Regions from separate parts of the Homo sapiens genome. Here region 1 is linked to region 2. The links are contacts of gene promoters, found by promoter capture Hi-C in blood cells and fetal thymus (Javierre and others, 2016). All regions are on one chromosome and are shown on one strand. The core of a region is centred on a gene start or on the middle of the fragment in contact, and the rest is flanking DNA. Distances in the headings are between cores, read along the strand shown. Region 1 overlaps CACNG2 (calcium voltage-gated channel auxiliary subunit gamma 2). Region 2 holds the start of NCF4 (neutrophil cytosolic factor 4).

Evidence for each region. The method cuts DNA at HindIII sites, captures the fragments that hold promoters and counts their contacts. A CHiCAGO score of 5 or more calls a contact.
Region 1: a fragment that was not itself captured here is called in contact with the fragment with the promoter of NCF4 in region 2 in 1 of 17 cell types (endothelial precursors); the score reaches 7.8 in endothelial precursors.

The regions. Positions count from the first base shown.
Region 1 is chr22:36,558,592-36,562,158 of GRCh38, forward strand. It overlaps CACNG2 (calcium voltage-gated channel auxiliary subunit gamma 2), which reads right to left. Exons shown (of 4, transcript NM_006078.5): 4 at 2,266-3,567. Among named protein-coding and RNA genes, the nearest start is that of EIF3D, 31 kb to the left of the region's middle. The HindIII fragment of the contact is 8,480 bases long and covers 1-3,567 here.
Region 2 is chr22:36,858,875-36,862,255 of GRCh38, forward strand. It overlaps NCF4 (neutrophil cytosolic factor 4), which reads left to right and starts at 2,132. Exons shown (of 10, transcript NM_000631.5): 1 at 2,132-2,329. The coding sequence starts at 2,298. The region is part of intron 1 of NCF4-AS1 (NCF4 antisense RNA 1); the gene reads right to left. The HindIII fragment of the contact is 9,996 bases long and covers 1-3,381 here.

The DNA of each region.
Region 1 (3,567 bases), core at 967-3,466, 300 kb before region 2:
CACAGCAGCACCTTCCCTCACTCCCTGCAGAGGCTTTGAAGTTTTTGGATTTGGTGAAGTCAGCATGACTGCAAGGAGGAATTGCTAAGCCTGAAGCATGAATGGAAGAGGGGGAAGGAGGAACGCTTCAAACCTCCATCTGAGGCAGGTGGCCAGGGATGCTGGAAGGTCTGGAGGCCCTGGGCCTTGTGCCTGCTTGAAGCCGATTCACTGTGTAAGCCTGGACACATCGCTTGCCCTTGCTGGCCTCCACCTGTGACTTCCGTGAAGGGAGAGGTCTTCTGAGCTCCGTGGCCTCTACCTGACCCTCTGGGAGTTGGTCCTTAAACTGCGCTCTGAGTGTTAAAATCTACATTCAAAAGGCAGAGAGAGGCTGTGTTGGCCTTAAACAAGAGCAAGAGGGGACCCTGCCCTGGCCCTCCTCAGACCAGGCCCTTTCCCACATGGTGAGGAATTCACAGGCCAAGGCGATGTGCTCACCCCAAGCCCTACCCTTTGCTAGACACTCGTCTGATGCCTGCTGCTGTAGAATTTCTGCTCCAAGAGTCCTGCCGTGCTGGCTTCCAGGGCTGGCTGCCATCTGTCCTCCTGAGGACCCATGTCCTCCTGCCTTAAGCAGTGGTTTTGGGAAAGCTGGGTGTGCAGGCTGGGATGTGTGCCCACTTTGTGGGAGATGCCCTGAACGTGCTGAGTGGAGCTGGAAGTGGGAAAGGAGGAGGGGTGGGTCATGGGCAGGGAGCTGTGGTCTTGGGTTCCAGGGTGGGCTTGCCCCATGCTGCTACTTTGAGGAGCAGAATGCAGAGGAGGTTGAGAATTCTAAATTCAAACCTAACATTTTAGTTTGTCACAAGGACATATTTGCCAGGACAGAGGATAGACCATATTTTTAAATTTTATTTTATATTTTATTTTAATTTTTTTTGAGATAGAGTCTCGCTCTGTCACCCAGGCTGGAGTGCAGTGGCGCGATCTCGGCTCACTGTAACCTCTGCCTCCCGGGTTCAAGCAATTCTCTGCCTCAGTCTACCGAGTAGCTGGGATTGCAGGCGCCCACCACCACGCTCGGCTAATTTTTGTGTTTTTAGTAGAGACGGGATTTCATCATCTCGGCCAGGCCGGTCTTGAACTCCTGACCTCATGATCCACCTTCCTCGGCCTCCCAAAGTGCTGGGATTACAGGGGTGAGCCACCTCGCCTGGCTGATAGACCATTTTTTAAGGTCGTTAGTTCGATGTGCAGCTGTTAAATCTTCAGACTTAAGTTATGGAGAGTGAGCCTCCCTTTCTACTCTTGCCCTGGACCCCACAAGTGTTAGGGGTGAGCCTGGAGAGAGAGATAATTGAGATTGGTGGGGGCTTGGTGGTGTGGCCCCAGCAGACTGAGGCTGAGTTGAACAGGGAGTTTTGAACATTGGACCCTTCTAGAGTAGACTTTTCCGGGCCACGTCATACAGGGCTTACCTTCTCTTAGGTCTGTGCGGTGTGTAGGTGTCATCTGCTTGCCATCTCCTTTCTCTGGAGCCCCAGGAGAGCTGTACAGTGAGTATGCTTCCCCAACACATCTTAGATAGCACTGTTATCTTAGACAGCTGTTTTGGGGCATGACAGGTCATCCTTCCAATGGGGCCTTTCTCTGATGTCAAAGGTCAAATCCTCCTGTTAGCATTCCATCTTGTCTTTCTCATCTCTTCAAGTTAAGAGAGTCCCAGGGACCCTCCCCATTCTTCTGCCACTCCATGGCTCTCCTCTTCCTGAGAAGCACCCCTCTGCAGGGAGCCCCCTGAGTAAACTGGTAGGGTCATGTCCATTCCAAACTGCACAATTTCACGGGGGAAAATGGAAACCCTGGAGTGTAACTGGGATGTTGAGTGGGGCTGCTTTATTCTAAAAGATAAAACTCAAGGACGTCATGCTCTCTGTCTTCAAATATCTGAGGGGCTGTCATGCTGAAAAGGGAAGGGATTTATTCAGTGTTGTTGGAGTGTGAAGGAAGAGGTGGATTAAAATTCAGTGTGCAGAGAAGACTTTTGCCAAAGAGTGCTGCTTAGCACTGGCTGGTGCTATCTTTGGAGGGGGTGAGCCCGCTGTCACTGGAGGCGTGCAAGTATCCCTAAAGGATATTTAATAGGGAACTCATGATCTAGAGAGTGGGGGGACACCCTACTGTACAGCATCTAAACCTCTCATCCCCAATAATCTGTAGCTTTAGGATTGTTTTAAATAGGATGCCAGGAGTTGGGAAAGGAATTAAAGAAATTCACTGAAGTGAGGACCAAGCTATAAAAAAAAAAAATCTTTATTTCATGTACCAGGATTTTTTTTTTCAGTTTTCTGCTTTTTAAAATTTTTTTTCTGTTAACAGTCTGAAAAAAAAAAAAAGGACTCACCAAGAAAATAAATGGAGGTTAGTTTCTTGAACTGGTCTGAGCTGGACATGAGCAATCATCCACACCCCTGGGCAGCAACGCCCTTGCAGTTCCGGTCCTGGCTCCTTCCCTCCGGACCCCCTAGCCCCTTCTCAGCCATGGCGATGTCACCCCACACCCCAGTGGCTTTCTTCAAGCACACCCAGAACCCAGGCCTTGCGCCATGGAAAGAAGCACTGATCGCCTTCCCAGACGCTCTGCCAGAATTCGGAGAACTGGAGCTAGTTTTTCTCTTCAGACAGTGCTCGCTTGGGTGCGGTTTTCTTGGGGACCCTCCCTTCTCCCTTCGCTCTCATCCTTGATCCCTTTAGGTCTGGAATCTGGTGGGATGGCGGGCAAGATTGGGGTGGGAGAGGGGTAGAGTTCAGTTTCTGCCCAGACTGAGGGCAACTTGGTTGTTGTTACCACACCTTGAATTGTCTCCCATTGTTCTGCCCCAGGGCCCATGACCTCCCCCTGTACTTCTGGGCTGGGCTGGCCGATGTTCTGCCCCTTGCTGACCTGGGAAAATAACTTTCCTTTCCCAGGCAAAAGACAGGAAAGGCAGGTGAGATGTGCAAGCTCAAAAAGCCTTACTAGCCATTCTCTAGAACTCCCCAGAGAGCTCAACCTCAGGAAATGCCGGTGTCAAGAAAAATGCAAACCGGGGGAGACTCGCAGGCAGAGGCAGGGGGGCCTCACCTTGACCTTCAGTCACCTGGGAGTAACTTGCAGACTGTTCTGAAATTTCCAGCTCAGGAAAGCTGTTGGATTTCTGTCAGTCTGAACTGGCCCTTGTCACTCTGGGGAAGAAAGGGGAGAAACACAGGATGCCCTTGACCTTTAGTCTGTGGTGCAAGTTTAACTTTTGGGGTTGGTCCTTACACTGGGATGGAACTGCTAAAATTTTCCTCTCCATTCCCTCAGCCTTGAGCCCTCCCAGTAAACCTCAGAGGATCCTCTTTTTCACAGACCCCCAAAGACACTGGGGAAGCCCTGGTGGCAGAGCTCTTCTCCCAAGGAAGCCTCTTTAACTCTCCATGATCGCAGCAAGGGGACACAAAGTGAAGAAGGGCTTTGGGGACCCCTGCGTCTTTCCCCTCTTTGCCTGAACAGCTTTATGTTTGCTCACATGTGTGTATTTTTGCTTTGACATTGGATGT
Region 2 (3,381 bases), core at 882-3,381:
AACACATTCTCTCACAGCCACAATGCCACCACTATACACATTATATGGTCTTTTATAGACACAACACAAATGCACTTACACTTGCCTATGCGAGCTGTATGTGTTTATACACAAATATGTGTTTCCAACTATAGGCATATACTACACACACAGTTTACACAATCACCTACAAATTCTGTATCATGCTTGCTTGCTAAAATTGTTTTGCCACTTCCTGTCCTTCCTGACCAACTGTAGGCCAATGTCCTCCTCTTCCCTCAGTTATGGCTGTGTGCTTGCACCTGTTGGTACTTACAGACACCTGCACTAATAACCCTGCTCTGTGTTTCATTTCATCCTCTAGCCTGGGAGCCCCGAGACACCAGCAACTCATCAGACTTATTGTTTGTATTATTTCTAGTTCTTTGGGTGTGAATTCTTCATGATGTGGAGGCTCTGAGCTGTCTTTCACAGCTCACGATTTGTAGTTTTGGTCTGTGAGTTGACAGAGTAGGCCCTGCAGAGTCACTGACTCCAAGCTGTTTTTATATAATGCCTCAGCTTAGGATTTCTGCACCACGTGGGTAGCTTATATCGGGGCCTTACACCAGTGCAGAGGGCAGGCTTGAGGCTGATCTGGTACACACGTCCCTTGTTCCACCCATGGACTGTGAGAGGACCTCAGCTCCTGCCGTGACTCTAGGCTGATGGCTGAGAAACTCTGTTCCCATAATCAGTTCTGACACCCACTTTACACTGAGAACTCAGATTTGACTTTCTGCTAACAGCAGGACCTGTGGCCTGTACCTAGTCCCAGATTTGGCATTAAAATCTCAGCCCAACAATGCATATCCAATCTTGGTTTTCCCATGGGCTGTTGGCCACGTTCCTCTCCCCCTGGTATAGATTCCTGACCCCTCTCTTTGATCCTACCTAAAAATTATGCTTTCTTGTTTTTTTTAGCTGGGACTTGTATGTTTAAAGTAGTTTAAAACAACTTTCTGCTCTGCATGTATGAATACGAGTGTGTGAGCGTGTGTAGCTGGCAGGGAGTTACTGGGTGTGGCTGTGCCAATGACTCCTGTGGACCTCTTCTCAGAGAAGTCCCTTCAGAATCAAATACCCATACCTGTTAGGAGCTGCAGTCACTGACTGGCAGCGTTTCATTCATTCACTGAATATTGGTTGAGCACTTGCAATGTGCCAGGCACGCTGCTAGCCAAGGAGGCAGTCATTAAACATACAGATAAACAAACAAATGTGAGATGACAATAGTTATGAGTGCTCTGCAGTAGACGTGCAGGGACCTGTGAGAGAATGTAGTAGGGAGGGCCTTAATTTAGGGTGTGTGGTCAGGGAAGGCCTCGCTAAAGATGTAGCTTCTAAGCTGAGATGCAAAGGAGGCAGTGAAGAGCTTTTTCCAGCAGAGGGAACACCATGAGCATAGGCCTTGGGGCGGACGTCTTAGAACATTCTAGAAACGGAAAGGAGGCCAGTGAGAAAAAGGGAGCTCAGGAGCAGAGGCTGGGGAAGGCTGCAGGGCCTCAGGGGCATTGGAGGCAGGCAGGGCAAGGACTCTGGACTTTATCCTGAGCACAGGGTGATGGGGCAGGAGAGTTTAAGCAGGGAGGGTGAAACTCACTCTGATTGGCAGCCCTGTGAAAGAGGATTGGCTGGGCATGGAGATCTAAGGATGAGGAAAGGATATCCCAGAGTGCCAGGGCGCGCAAACCAAACTTCACACTCTAGGAAGACAGAGGCCAGAGGAACCAGGAGGGCTTCCTGGAGGAGGTGGCATTTACTCTGGGCCTAAGAGATCACAGGAAAATGGAGGCCAGCATTCTAGGCCTGGGGAAGAGTTTGGGCAAAGGCTTGGCAGTAAGAGAATAAAGGTGGGGCTTGATGGGCCAGAGGATAAGTGACTCCTCAAGGTCACAAGACACCCTGATGGCTGGGACCCCATCTCTGATGGAGCAAGGCTTCTGATACCCAACTGAGGCTTGGCGCCAAGGACTGACATCAAGGAAGTGGATTCCTGCAAACCTGGCACCCGAGGGTCCACTTCCTCAATTTCTGTGCAGCTGGGAGGTGAGGTAAGAGGAAGTGTGGGCCACAGGCTAGGCCCAGAGAGCCTGGAGGAGGAGCCTCTGCCAGACTGGAGAGAAGCAGGCCTGAGCCTCCCCAAAGGCAGCTCCTGGGGACTCCCAGGACCACAGGCTGAGACGAGACGCAGGGTGGCTGGAGGAAGTGAGAGGTGAACTCAGCCTGGGACTGGCTGGGCGAGACTCTCCACCTGCTCCCTGGGACCATCGCCCACCATGGCTGTGGCCCAGCAGCTGCGGGCCGAGAGGTGAGTGCCGGGGTGTGGCCGCCCCCGGGCCTTCTCACTGCTCCTCATAGGCCTTAGGGACAAAGGCCAGTCCTTCTGCAGTCCCTGATCAACATGAGAGGCTGGGGTTGAGTCAGAACCCAAATACTCAGAAATGCAACCTCTCAGAACTGCTTTAACGAAACTTTGAGCTGTGGCTCACCACCCTCAGACACAAATGAGAACACTGAGGCTCCAAGAGTGGGAGTGACTTGCCCACGGTCACACAACGAGTGACCGGCAGTGTCTGGAGAGGAATGCAGGTGTCCTGGGTCCCAGGCTGGGGCCCTTTGCTTCACATGGTGATCAGCAATGACTTTCCATCTTCTGCGCAAACAGAATTCACAGAATCTGGCTTGTTCTTCCGCTAATCAGGGCTTGCCTCAAATGTCACCTCCTCCAAGAAGCCTTCCTGACAGCCCCTACCTCATTGCTGTCTGACCCTTTGCCCTATTTCCCTTTTCTGCCTGGTTCTTATATTACAGGAATAATATTATATGCTCATTTATTATTTTTTCTTGAACGTTGGCTCCCCCATGAGAAGCAAGCTCCACGAGGCTGTGTCCGTTTTGATCGCTGCTGTATCACTAGGAGGTAGCTCATCCCTATTGAGCACCAGGACCAAGGGCTCAATAAATGTTGCTGAATGAATGAATAAATGAATGAATGAATGGGTGGATCTTTGAGACGGAAAAGGTCTTAGATTCTTCTAGTCCAACCTTGCCATTGTACAGATTGGAAATCTGAGGCCCAGGGAGGATAAGAGACTTACTCAGGGTCACAGAGAGTGACTGGCAAGGTTGGGGCTTGGAGCACGGCCTCACCAGCATCTAGCCTCGTCGCTTGGGAAGCATTTTCAGAATTTTTCCTCAGTAGCCAGGTCTGAGCTCTAAGCTGCGGGGGCCCTGAGGACGCAAAGCCTGGCCCCTGCACCCCCTGGATTGGAACAGCAGGTGACCTCTGTTACCTACGTGGAGGCCACTCAGGGGGTCACCAGAGACAGGCCAGGCTGGTGTGTGCCTACGCGGGGAACA